Linked DNA regions of Homo sapiens: region 2 is linked to region 1. Evidence: promoter capture Hi-C in human tissues and cell types (Jung and others, 2019). All regions are on one chromosome and are shown on one strand. The core of a region is centred on a gene start or on the middle of the fragment in contact, and the rest is flanking DNA. Distances in the headings are between cores, read along the strand shown.

What was found. The method cuts DNA at HindIII sites, captures the fragments that hold promoters and counts their contacts. A contact is called where the count stands out against the background at its distance.
Region 2: a fragment that was not itself captured here is called in contact with the fragment with the promoter of ENTPD3 in region 1 in 1 of the 25 tissues and cell types used here (stomach).

The regions. Positions count from the first base shown.
Region 1 is chr3:40,384,401-40,391,407 of GRCh38, forward strand. ENTPD3 (ectonucleoside triphosphate diphosphohydrolase 3) reads left to right here and starts at 2,784. Exons shown (of 11, transcript NM_001248.4): 1 at 2,784-2,861; 2 at 3,646-3,697. The coding sequence starts at 3,658. ENTPD3-AS1 (ENTPD3, EIF1B and MYRIP antisense RNA 1) reads right to left here. Exons shown (of 4, transcript NR_040100.1): 4 at 6,551-7,007. RefSeq lists a silencer at 2,705-2,804. The HindIII fragment of the contact is 11,676 bases long and covers 1-7,007 here.
Region 2 is chr3:40,421,428-40,428,680 of GRCh38, forward strand. ENTPD3 (ectonucleoside triphosphate diphosphohydrolase 3) reads left to right here. Exons shown (of 11, transcript NM_001248.4): 8 at 1,423-1,695; 9 at 1,864-1,974; 10 at 2,399-2,536; 11 at 5,845-7,253. The coding sequence ends at 6,081. All of the region lies in intron 2 of ENTPD3-AS1 (ENTPD3, EIF1B and MYRIP antisense RNA 1), which reads right to left. Among named protein-coding and RNA genes, the nearest start is that of ENTPD3-AS1, 28 kb to the right of the region's middle. The HindIII fragment of the contact is 3,293 bases long and covers 2,273-5,565 here.

The DNA.
Region 1 (7,007 bases), core at 1,534-4,033:
AGGCATGCACCACCACACCTGGCTAATTTTTGTATTTTTTGGTAGAGACGGGGTTTCACCATTTTGGCCAGGCTGGCCTTGAACTCATGACCTCAGGTGATCAGCTGACCTCGGCCTCCCAGAGTGCTAGGATTACATGCGTGAGCCCCTGTGCCTGGCCTAGATCTTTTTAAACTTTGCTAAGCTAATCAAGTCTAATCAGTTTTTTTTTAATCTTGTTTAAATATACCAAAGTTTTAGTTGACAATTTTTGGTAAATAATGAGATTAAGCATCTCTGCCATGTTAGTCAGCCATTCATATTTCTTTTGTAAATTGGCCAATGCATGTGACTTGCCCATTTTCTATTTCAGATATTCATATTTTTCTATAGACTTTAGTATATCTTACGGTTTTAAACTCTTTACTGTCACATTCTTAGGTATTTCCTGAGAATTTATCTTTTTTTTGGTGGGGGGGGGTTGCAGTGGGTGGTGTCTTTCTATTCAGTCATTTTTCATTTTCATGGATTCAAATTTGTTGACTTTATTTCTCTTCCTGCTTTGACTGCATAGTAGAAGAGACTGTTCTTTCCCAAGGATGATAAAAATGTTCTTCTACATTTTTTAGTATGTCAAATTATTTTATACATTTAAATTTTTAAACCACCTAAAATCTATTTTTGTGGGTGATGAGTAATTAGAATCCTTTTCCAAATGAGCCAGTTGTTTCAATACCAGTTATTGAATAATATGTTATTTCAACCTGTTCTTTATCTTATAATCCTATATCCAATAGTCTGTTGTGGCCTATCTTTTTTGTTCTTTAGATCTCTCAGTATATTCCTGTGCCCAAGCCAGGCTGTTTTTATTACTGTGGCTTTACAATATGTTTTGATAGCTGGTGGGCAAATCTGTATTATTTTATAATCAGGAAAACTCACAAAGGAGTGTGTGTGTGTGTCTGTGTGTGTGTGTGTTCTTGCATGTGGAAGGTGGATGAGGAAATGCCTTTGAATGACTAGGTCTACTTTGGAAGCTGCAAAGGAGTTTGACACAGTGCCTGGAGCAGAGTTTCCAGAAAAGCTTGGAAAAATAAAAGGAGAATTGGAGACTACAGGGCTCTCAAAGGAGGCTGATGCTCACACTTACAAGGTCTGTAGGTTGATGCAAGCAGAGAGGAAAGCTGGCATGGACTGATCTCTGTTATTTTTATACACTAGCACTAACTGCCTTTCAAGGCCCATTAGGCCTGGAAACCTTTTCCCAGCCCCTGGGAAGTCACTGGGGATGCTAAGGTTAGTCATTCACCCACTGGGGCTATCTAACTGAGCTCAGGTCCGGGTGCACTGCCAGCAGCTGTTTGTGTACTTACAGCCCCCTGGGTGCAGACGGACCCCCAGCTGCCAGCCATATGCCTTATGTTTCATTGTCCCACAGCTTTCAAAGAAAACAAGTCTTTTAATTCAGCAAGTATTCACTGAATGTCTGACACCCCCAGTGCAGACCCTGTCCCAATCCCCCAATGGGGTCCACCTCTATCCAACTCTGGGTGAATGACCATGGTGCTCTTGCGCGCGGGCACACACACACACACACACACACACACACACACACACACACAGGCACACACACATAACTCAGGCTTGGGGCCCACCTCTCTGGGCTCAGAGGTATCAAAGCAGGGGCATTCCTATCTTAAGGACTTCTTGTCTTAGGGGCTTTGGCCCCACCTGCACAGGACAGAAAATTAGTGGATTTCTAGGAGAAAGCAGGCTATGGCAGGGTATAGCCAGGGACTCAGCTCTTCCTTCCAGACATGCAGGAACCATAAGGAGGGATGGTCAAACAGGGCCTGCTTAGGCCTCTTGCTGGGATCACTCCAAGGGTCTCTGGGGTCACTCAGAGGAGCCGGGAGGCTGCCTGCTGCTGTACACTGAGACAGACTCCTGGGGTGTTTGGATCACGGCAGCCCACATGCTGCCTTTTTGTTATCTTTTCTGTTTTGCCTCTTCCGGGCTGTACTTGTCTTGAGTTTTTGGCCTTATGACATCCATATTAAATGGGGTAGGGCAGAGCATTGCTCAGTAAACAGCAAGAATGGCCCTGGGCATGGCCAAGGCAGTTCTGCTAAGTGTGAAAGGGAATGTGCCTGCCATACTTTGTGCTTTAGGCCCAAGTGACCTAGGGGCCAGCCTGCCTACTGGCCTCACTCCCAACATTACAGGTGTTTGACTCTACTCCACCCCGTGGAGAGACGGAGCACAGGAGCCACCCACCGGGGGACCACATAAGGTCATGCACACCCACAGAGTGCCCAGTCCCTGCCTGGCCTTGTCCCCATTTTCCCTCCACCTAGGGTTGGGGTGACAATGGAGGTAACTAGAAGACAGATCAAAAGGTTCTTGGTCTTGACACAGATGCAAGAAGGAGGCAGATAATAGACACCTCCCTTCCCCCTCGCCCACATAGGCTCCGGTGGGTTCTCAGGGCAAGGCCTGGCTCCCTCCTCTCCGACTTCAGGTACAGGTGAGTGTGGAGGGAACTGAAAGAGGAAAGGTGAAGTGCTGTTTGGCTTCGACCTGGAGGGGGACAGAAGGCTCTCTGGGCAGGCAGGGCCGGTCTTTTGGCAAGAGGCGCGCTCTCTCTCCCTTCCCCTTCCATCGAGGGCTGGGTGTGAAGGTGAGAGCAATCAGAAAAGAAGGTGAAGAGGTACTTGGCCTTGACACGGACGGGGGGGGCGGTCCCAGGCCGAGGCCGCCCCGCCCCCGCCCCGCTATACCCGGCGCCGCCTCCCGGCGTCTGAGCTGACACCTCCTTAGCGCTGGCCGCGGGCCGCCTCTGCGGCAGCGCTAGTCGCCTTCTCCGAATCGGCTCCGCACAGGTAAGATCAGGGGACCCGGCGCCTGAGCTGCCGAGGAAGGAGTCGGGGGTGCTGCGTGAGACTGAGAGTTGGGAGGCAAAGAAACAAAATCGGATTTCCTCAGAGGGCCAGAGGAAGAGACTGAAACACGGTAGCCCCAAATCCTTGGGCGGCTGGGAGGTGGTCCCTGTCATGCCCACGACGGGTGGGCGCGTCTTTACCGACAGCCTGCATGGATCCGCAGATGTGCTGGGCGCTTAGATGCCTGCGGCTATGCAGAGACGCAGTCCAGAGAGGTGACCCCAGATCCTGGTGGGGGCTGGATCCCAGGGCCCCGACATCCCTTTGCAATTTCCAGCCAGCAGCTAAAGACTCCCTTCCCGGGGCTTTAGAGAGGCTCCAGGCTCGCGATCCATGAACACACAAAAACCTTCCTTGCTCATGTTCTGAAAAAAAGCCCCGCCTCAGCTTTGTGAATGTTAATAATAGGGGGAAGATTTGTTCTCTCTTGGGTGTGTGTACAGGTGGAACAATCTGCAGAAAAAGACCTTTTTTCGGAAAACCTTTTCAGTTTGAAGTTTCAGCAAATCCATTTTTCATTTCCTTTCATTTGGGGAGATGACATGAAATTTAAGCTCCAGCTTTGGGGCTGTCTCTGAAGTTCTGGGGTTCGGCTTACCTTTCCCGGGATGAGGTTTTGATTTGGAGGAAGTAAAATGGGTTTTGTCTTAACCTGGGCTCGTTCTTTAAACTTGTGAGGCCGGGGCGGTGGACTTACTGACATCCTGTATTCTCTCACCTGCAGCTAGGAGAAAAGATGTTCACTGTGCTGACCCGCCAACCATGTGAGCAAGCAGGTTAGTATCTCTCAGCAGGTAGCAAGCGTGGTTTTGCCAAATCGCAAGAGAACCCCAGCTTCGGCCTACAGTTTTTCATCCATATCCCCTGCAAATGATTGTTTAACTTTATTGGTTTGAGACTCAGTACTCAGCTGGGTTTCAACACCGGCATTCCTCAAATAAAAGTAATGCTTTTCATCAAAGCCACACAAAACAAGGACTAACATGCATGTTTCACTTAAATGGTTTTTCCGGTTTGTATAATCCATTAATTTGGCCCTTGTGGTTTCCCTTAGCTAGCTGTGTGTAACGTTTGCTTTAGAATACTGTATTGTTGATTTTGTGATCAATTGTACAGTACTTGGATCTTTCCTGTATTCCCATCCAAATGTTGCTGGCACAGTGCCTACAACACCCCCACCCCTCACTGTGAGTCAGTGTTGTTATGGTTGATACTGCAGGCACAAGTGCAGGATTTTCTCACACTGGAAGGCACACACACACAGACACACACACACACACACACACACACACACACACACACACTTCTAAGCTTGCCCCGCCTGCCTCTAGAGCACTTTTTGGAGTTGCTCATGTGGAAGCCCAGAAGGCTCTGGCTTCTCCAAGCTCAGGTAGGTACCTTGCAATTACCATGTTTGTCCAGCCCTAATGACAGCACAGCTCTAGGCTGCATTTCCTAAATGAGTAAGACCTGGTCTCATCCATTTTGCTTTGTAATAAGCTTTTCTGCAAGGACAAGAGTTTGCTTAAGGTAATCATAGCTTTTTACTTGAAAACTGCTGAAACACAGAAGACTTAGGAGGCCAGCCACGTAGCTGTGGTCAGGAAACTGCATACATATCACACACTCCTCCCCCATGGATAGACATTCTTTAGTCATGCCCCTAAATTGGGTATTCTTGTCTTCCAAAAGGATATGATTTTAGGATAGTAAGGGCAATCTATATGAACTTTTATTTTTGTAAAGGGACATTGCACTTGAGGAGCTGTTTTCCTTTGATCTTTAGGTTTTCCCCCAAAACACTTTGAAATGTTAACACAGATTGTAACGTCACTCATACAGACTAACCTGTTACATTCCTTCCAAAGGACAAGTTTAACTTGGCAGATTAAATTTCTACCCCATTTTGTTAGAGGGAAAAAATCCCTTAAACTTCTATAACTAACACTGACAAATGCATTCTTTGAAAGCTAATGCAAAAGTTTGCCTCTGTGGATTAACTGGTTCCTGTACTTTTATTTGGAATCACAGAAAAGTGATACAGGACCTCTTTACATGCTCTGCAGGTCAACTCCATGGCAGTTGGCTCTCCTTTCCATTGCTATTACCCACAATTCTGTAATGAGTAACCTTGTGTCTAAGTCATTTTACACATGTGGAGCTAGTTCTGTGGGATAACTTCCCAAAAGAGTGATTGTGAGTCAGATGGCATGCTTATTTGCAGTTTTCATAAATATTGACAAGTTGCCCTCCATTGATGCTGTACCAGTTTACACTTTCAATGACAAGGTAGGAGGATTAAGGTGTTAAGTGACCAACTTTGACACCAAGAAGTGTCTGTGACTGCAGCTACACTGCAGGGGAATCAGTTGAGATGGAAAGAGTTAGCTGTTCTGAGCCATGAAGACCTACTGCGTGACTGCCCTCCTGTAGCAAATGTTGTGATGTGACTGAATTTGGGGGCTGAATCTAATTATATCGTGGGCGCATAGACATGCCCTGTTATTCTTCTGGGAAAATGGCTTACAGAAATAATGGAGGGGTAAAGCATAGGTTATAATGATCTAGGAATAATGTTCTGGAATAAGACAGGATCTATCCAATTGCTGTTCAATTGATCTTCCTATAATGATGAAAATGTTATATGGCTGCACTGTCCAATATAGTAGCCACTAGCCCACATGTGGTTATTGAACACTGGAAATGTGGCTAGTAAGATTGAGAGACTGCATTTTTTTATTTTAATTAATTTACATTTAGATAGCCAATTGATTAGATATATATTGGAATTCGATGAATCTAGTGATCTTTCTATTAGTGTTCATCATATTTCAACCATTTGGTTGTCATTTATGTTGATGTCCCAATAGTTTTACCAAGACTATTATTATTATTTTTTTAGAGACAAGGTCTCACTCTGTCACCAGGCTGGAGTATAGCGGCACAGCTCACTGCAGCCTTGAGCTCCTGGGATCAAAGGATCCTCCAACTTCAACCTCCTGAGTAGCTTGGGCTACAGGTGTGCACCACATGTACAGTTGATTTTTTTCATTTTTTGTAGAGACGGGGTCTCACTATGTGGCTCAGGCTGGCATCTAACGCCTGGCCTCAAGCATCTTCCCATCTCAGCCTCCCAAAGCTGGGATTACAGGCATAAGCCACTATACCCAGCCCAAGATTATTATTTAGTCAGTATTTTCATTGAATGTCTTTTTATCTTTTTAAAAAATTAGGTATAACTTCTATTCAGTGAAATGGATAGATCTTAAGTCGTGCCCCTAAGTTGGGTGTTCTTGCCTTCTAAAAGTATGTTTTTAGAATAGTAAGGGCAATTTATAAGTTTATAATGTTTTTTTAAAAGGAAATTATACCTAAGACACTGATTTGCTTTCATTTTCAAGTTTTCTCCAAAGGACTTTGAAAGGTTTGATGAGTTTTGACAAATGCACACATCCATATACTCCACACTCTGTATAGCGCATTGCCATTACCCCAAGAAAGTGCCCACATATTCCTTCTCAGTGAATCCCTGCCCCAACTTCTGCCCCCTGGCAATCACTATTCTGATTCCTGTTACCTTCCTACTTTTGAACTTCAAATAAATGAAATCATTTCAGTATAGTATAGTACTAATTTTTTTATTTTTATTTTATTTTATTGAGACAAGGTCTTATTCTGTCACCCAGGCTGGTGTGTAGTAGTTTGATCTCAACTCATTGCAACCTCCACCTCCTGGCTTCAAGCAATTCTCCCACCTCAGTCTCCCGAGTAGCTGGGACTACAGGCGCATATGATCACACCTGGCTAATTTTTGTATTTCTTGGTAGAGACATGGTTTCACCATATTGGCCAGGCTGGTCTTGAACTCCTGACCTCAAGTGATCCACCCACTTCGGCCTCCCAAAGTGCTGGGATTACAGGGGTCAGCCATCTGCCCAGCCTAATTTCTTTTTCTTTAACTGAGATTATTTTTAAATGAAATATTCTATGAGATTATTTTTAAGTGAAATATTCTATCACCTGGTTTAATTTTTTAAAAATAGATTTTTTGAATCTCCATTAAAACTAATGTTAGCTGGGCGTGGT
Region 2 (7,253 bases), core at 2,669-5,168, 38 kb after region 1:
ACAACATTCAGGACTTTAGCATAAAATAGAGTATTTTGCACCAGTAGATTAAAGATTGAATAGTCATATGGAAAAAGTAAAGCCAAGTCTCTGAGTCTTTAAATCAAATAAATTTCAATGGATAAAAGATTTATATGTGACAAGGATATTTGTTTGTAATGGCAAAATGATTGGGAACCACCTCAATGTTCATCTAGATGATATTCCTTAAATAAAGTATGGTTTATTTGTACAGTGGAATACTATGCAGCTACTAAAAAAATAGGCCACTGTATAAGTACAATGAATGGAAAGATCTCAAAGATATATAATTTTAAGTGAGAAAAGCAACGGGTAGAATGGGGTATATAAAGTGCTACCATTTATGGCTTTAAAAAAAGAAAAGCATGGGAGAAAATATATATATTTGCATGTGCATGCCAGATCTTTGGAAGGATACACAAAAACTGGCAATAGTGATTGTTTCCAGAAAAAGGCCTGATGGCTGCAAGTGGATGAGAAGGAGACTTCACTTTCATATGTTTATTTGTACCTTTTGGATTATTTTGCTAGATGGATGGGTGATATTCTACTTAAAATGATACATTATATATATCCATTTTCTCACCAAGTGAAGTTCATAAAACCTGGTTCATAGGGCTATCATAAGAGCTGGATCAGATAATGTGAGAGAGAGCCTAGCGCTATGCCTGGTACGAGGTAATTGTCACACACACACACACACACACACACCCTTTTCCCACCCCTACTTGAATTATCTAGACAACCTGTGATCAAAGACATGCTGACACAGAATGGTATTTTTTGTTTCTCTCTTGGCATTGGAGGGTAGTGATAGAATTTGCAAAAGGGAAATACTTGGCTCTCCACAAAAAAAGTGGTTTCTAATACCTTACTCTTTTTTTTTTTTTTTTACTTAGAGATTTTATTATTATTATTATTATTATACTTTAAGTTTTAGGGTACATGTGCACAATGTGCAGGTTAGTTACATATGTATACATGTACCATGCTGGTGTGCTGCACCCATTAACTCGTCATTTAGCATTAGGTATATCTCCTAATGCTATCCTTCCCCCCTCCCCCCACCCCACAACAGTCCCCAGAGTGTGATGTTCCCCTTCCTGTGTCCATGTGTTCTCATTGTTCAATTCCCATCTATGAGTGAGAACATGTGGTGTTTGGTTTTTTGTCCTTGCGATAGTTTACTGAGAATGATGATTTTCAATTTCATCCATGTCCCTACAAAGGACATGAACTCATCATGTTTTATGGCTTCATAGTATTCCATGGTGTATATGTGCCATATTTTCTTAATCCAGTCTATCACTATTGGACATTTGGGTTGATTCCAAGTCTTTGCTATTGTGAATAGTGCCGCAATAAACATACGTGTCTAACACCTTACTCTTATACCTACAGAATTCTCCTACCAAAAACCATCTCACCAATCCCTGTTACCCTCGGGATTATAGCATCAGCTTCACCATGGGCCATGTATTTGATAGCCTGTGCACTGTGGACCAGAGGCCAGAAAGTTATAACCCCAATGATGTCATCACTTTTGAAGGAACTGGGGACCCATCTCTGTGTAAGGAGAAGGTGGCTTCCATATTTGACTTCAAAGCTTGCCATGATCAAGAAACCTGTTCTTTTGATGGGGTTTATCAGCCAAAGATTAAAGGGCCATTTGTGGTAAGAGCAAAACCTTCTGAAAGATTCCTTTCCCCATTGAATATTCATTTCTCACTTTTCTGTTTCTCCTCTGCTGACTTGTTAGCCACCTTCTTATTCCTCACCCATAAACCTTTCTATTATACCCCATTCTGAGAACTAATTTTCTTCTGTATTACTTATTTCCAGGCTTTTGCAGGATTCTACTACACAGCCAGTGCTTTAAATCTTTCAGGTAGCTTTTCCCTGGACACCTTCAACTCCAGCACCTGGAATTTCTGCTCACAGAATTGGAGTCAGGTCAGTATTTAAAGAGAAGGGATCAATGTCAGTACAAAAAAATATGGTAGAATCTATTCTATGTGTGTGTATTCTGAATTTAGCCTTTATGCTCTTCTATTTCCATCACATCTGTAAAATAAAAGGAATAAGGGAATCTACTCCCACACCTGTGGTGTGAATTAATGTTATAACTACATGCACAATGGTTAGAACAATATTTGGCATATAATAAGCACTCAATGAGTTTAAAGATTAGTATATTGTGATATTATATAGGGATATTTTCATAATTATATTGTGTGATTATATGATTGTATTATAAAGTATTTTCTATTATGAAATTATGGGTGATAAGATTCTTTAAAACATGACTTTTAACCCAAGGTGTTCATTTTAAAACATACCTGCCTGCCCTGCCTCTCAGATGTTTTAAACCTTTCAGCTCCCACTGCTGCTCCCCAAATTTGATGAGGTATATGCCCGCTCTTACTGCTTCTCAGCCAACTACATCTACCACTTGTTTGTGAACGGTTACAAATTCACAGAGGAGACTTGGCCCCAAATACACTTTGAAAAAGAAGTAAGTTAAGCACAAATCATTTTCTCTTCTTCTTCCCAACAGAGAGGTTTGTATGTGTGTGTGGAACAAATGTAGAAGGTAAAAGGGTATTAATGAGTTAAACTCACTGGGTGGAAGCTGATCAGACTGATCCCTTGTGAGTTTCCCAGAAGAGGTCATGGAGAATTTAGAAGAGTTGCTCATGGGTATACATTCTCCTGGAAAAGACTGGAAGCCAAGGGCCAATGGACTAGGCGGTCCTGGAGGGCAGAGACCTGTCTTGGTATCTTCATATTCCCAGCACTCTGCACAAGGAATAGAGCCTAGAAGGTACTTAGTAAATGTTGGTTGAATTCATAAATAAATATGTTAAGGATATGAGACTTTTCATCCTGAAAAGAAGCTTTAAATGTAACAGTTTTTTAAAGAGGATAGTAACTAATTCTTCTCCATTTTATTCAGATATCAGAGTAAGATACAGGCCTTAGGGCCTGATGGATTTGCATTAGCATTAAATAAATATTTTCTCTTTGAATGAACCTGAAGTCATTATATTTACTGACAAAGATTTGGGGGATGGGGAAGATATTCTTAGCTCAGGGTTTAATATATTTAAAAATATGTATATTTATAGATATCTATAAATACATACATATATATATATGATGGTCAAGTGACCAGAATGGTCCAAAGCTGGAATCACAGCTGTCACCTGGTGACAGGTGAAAGGACCTCCATACCTTGTTTTTAGGCAGGGCTAAGCCTTGTGAATATGTTCAGCCAGCACTATGTTCCCCAGGTTCCAGAGAATTTTCTCATTTCAGGAATAGCTGATATGAAGCCTGAAGGATGTCTGGAGTCAGCCTGTTCAATACCAGCTTCAGCAATAATTAGATTAAACCAATCAATATCCTGCATTAGGCCTCTGACTATCTACTTTTACATAAATAAAATTGAGTCATCTACAAAAAAATAAGGATGTCTGGAGACATAAGGACTGTTGGTAGCATGTACTCTCTAAGCTTTGCTTCTAATAAATCTAATTACCAGTAAAGTATATTATAAGAATGGAGAATGACTTTCCATTTGAATGCCAGTTTGAGTTGACATAATATTCTAAGTTAAAAGTTCCCTTTTTTTAATTATAAAGAATTTTGTGTCCAGCCAAATTAGTATTTAAATGTGAAGATGTAGGCTGGGCACGGTGGCTCACACCTGTAATCCCAGCGCTTTGGGAGGCCGAGGCAGGCGGATCACCTGAGGTCAGGAGTTTGAGACCAGCCTGACCAACATGGAGAAACCCTGTCTCTACTAAAAATACGAAATTAGCTGGGCATGTTGGTGCATGCCTGTAATCCCAGCTACTCAGAGGCTGAGGCAGGAGAATCACTTGCACCTGGGAGGTGAAGGTTGCCGTGAGCCGAGATCACGCCATTGCACTCCAGCCTGGGCAACAACAGCAAAACTCCATCTCAAAAAATAAAAATAAAAATAAATAAATAAAAATGTGAAGGTGTAAAAAGACTTGAGAAGATTTGCTGCACAGAAGACTTACAATGAAAATATTTTTGGTGGAAGTAATAAAATAAGAAGAGAAATAAATCCAGGAGATGTTACAAAAACACTGGAAGTAAGAATAAATGATGTTGTGGCTTAAAATTTACATTAAAAAAGCCGGGTGCTGTGGCTCATGCCTGTAATTCCAGCACTTTGGGAGGCCGAGGCAGGTGAATCATTTGAGGTCAGGAGTTCGAGACCAGCCTGGCCAACATGGCAAAACCATGTCTCTACTAAACATACAAAAAATTAGCTGGGTATGGTGGCATGTGCCTGTACTCCCAGCCACTCAGGAGGCTGAGGCAGGAGAATTGCTTGAAACTGGGAGGTGGAGGTTGCAGTGAGCCGAGATCTCACCATTTCACTTTAGCCTGGGCGAAAGAGCAAGACTCTGTCTCAAAAAAAAAAAAAAAATTATATTAAAAAAAACAGAAAACGAACACTAAAGAAAAGTATTTAAAAAAAACTCCATTCATATGACTCAAGTATAGAAAATATCCACATGATAAGGGTGTGGTAAGGAGTTATAAGATACAGGGACATAAGAGTAACCTAAAATTCTCTTCTTGTCAAAGGAAACACAGAGATATCTTTTTCTTTTTCTTTTCTTTTTTTTTTTTTTTTTTTGAGACGGAGTCTCGCTCTGTCGCCTAGGCTGGAGTGCAATGGTGTGATCTTGGCTCACTGCAGCCTCCGCCTCCTGGGCTCAAACAATTCTCCTGCCTCAGCCTCCTGAGTAGCTGGGATTACAGGCACCCACCATCATGCCTGGCTAATTTTTGTATTTTTGTAGAGACAGGGTTTCACCATGTTGGCCAGGCTGGTCTTGAACTCCTGACCTCAGGTGATCCCGCCTCGGCCTCCCAAAGTGCTGGGATTATAGGCGTGAGCCACCATGACTGGCCACAGATATCATTTTTAAGGCAGGAAAGAAGAAAAAATATATATAGAAAAATAGCACTAATTGAAAATTTAAAAGTAAGATATTAGAAAGAAGTGTAAATATATTAATAATCACAATAATTATAAATGGACTAAACCTACCAGTTAAAAGAGAGATGTCAAATTGAATTTTTAGAAATCAAGCAGGTGCCATTTATAAGAGAAACATGGTTCAAGCATAAAGACATGGAAAGATAGAAAGATAATTTTGTTAAATTATCAAACACTACCCAAAAGAAAGCTGGTATAACTATTTAGTATCTGGCAAAGCAGTCTTTAAGACCAAGAGCCTCATTCTAGACACAGAGGGTTACAACATAATGATAAAATGTTCAATTCACTATGAAGATTGCAAAGGTGAAACATTTATACACCTAATAAAACACCCTAAAAACATGTAAAGCAAAAATAGATAGAACTACCAGAATAAATTGACAGTCAGCTTCCCATTTGGGCTGATTTTCTATTCTTAGGAACTGGTCCTGGGATCAGTAAACCACTCATTAGCCTCTTTCTCTAGCCACAAACACTCCTGTGCTCCTGGACAACAGGAACACTTTCACTGTTATTAACTGTGCCGTCTTCACTCTTGGCTGTGACAAGATTGTGAGAATTTGTTCTTTTGACTATTTCTTCTGCAGCGCTGGAGGTGAGATTTCCCCAAGCCTTTGTGGCTACAGTGTGGTGTCTTAACTTGGGCAAGTCCTTTGACCTCTTTGGGCCACAATTTCCCATGGGAGCTTTGTGAGGTTGATAGCAGTATGACTCCGGTATGTGATTGCAGCCTTGAGCCTTGCCCTGAGCGCTGAGCCATCTCCTCTACTCCACAGGTGGGGAATAGCAGCATAGCCTGGTCTCTTGGCTACATGCTCAGCCTGACCAACCAGATCCCAGCTGAAAGCCCTCTGATCCGTCTGCCCATAGAACCACCTGTCTTTGTGGGCACCCTCGCTTTCTTCACAGCGGCAGCCTTGCTGTGTCTGGCATTTCTTGCATACCTGTGTTCAGCAACCAGAAGAAAGAGGCACTCCGAGCATGCCTTTGACCATGCAGTGGATTCTGACTGAGCCTTCAAAGCAGCTCCTGGAGTCCAATGGCTGCTTAGAGTCAGCCTGGGTGGCACCAGGCAATGCAGGTGAAGTGGCTGCCTTCAGGAAATACAACTAACTAAAATCAAACACCTAGGTCACGTGCCTCTCAAATACTGATTTCTGCCACAGCACCTCTTGAGGCATCCCTTGGCTATTCTGTGCATATTGTTCTTCAGAGACCTCACTACCCACATGCTGATCTATTGGGGAACAGAGAAGAGACAGGCCACGAAGGTCAGGCTCTTTATATTAAGTTCCCCAGAGGAAGAGTAAGTTGAGAAGGTATCAGTTTAATGTTGAAGAATTGACCTCAGGGCTCAGTTTCCATTTCCCTCCCTCAGTATTCTTCCTGGCAAGATACCCATTAAGCATTTCGCCAATCAGAATCTCATTTTATAGTTTTTCCCATTGGTCTTTAACTAAGACTTTCTTGTAGCAATCTCGTAAGCAGTGAACCCCCTCAGATCAGTAGAATATAGTATCTGGGGGAGAAGACTTACTTCCTTCAGGGCAGCAGCCACAGCCAGGCTTCTGTCATACAGGTAGATCCCGAAGCACAGAGACATAAAAAAGGTCTCCCAGAAAACTATAGACCATTCTCCAAGTGGAATTCCCACTTAGGGCTCTGGTCACTAGATTGCAACCTGTGTGTTTGTCATCATCCTCATCTCACCATTGTATTGCTATGCCCTCCCATAAAAACACATTGATCCCTAGCAAGATTATTGCATTCCAGATTTTACTGCCTTTGCTAGGCTTTTGCTTAGCAAAGGGCTGACTTTCCATTGTTATCATGGTGTATATATTTTTGTCACCATTCCCACAAGTATACTTGATGTTGTCATAGAACGAACATCCTACTCTATGATTTACTAACCAATTACTTTCCCAGATCATAGACCTCTCTGCATAGTAGTCATAGGTCTTGACTTTGGGGAAAGAAAAGGAAGCTGCAGGAATATTTATCTCCAAAGTCGAATGAGAAAGAACTCCAGCAAATCCAATGGCTACAAACTAAAAATCAGCATTATTTCATATTGCTGTTTCTTAGCTGAATATGGAATAAAGAACTATTATTTTATTTTGACTTGCAAGGGGTGTGTGTGTGTTAACTTCCATATGGTACTCTTTCTCCTAAGGACCCTAGG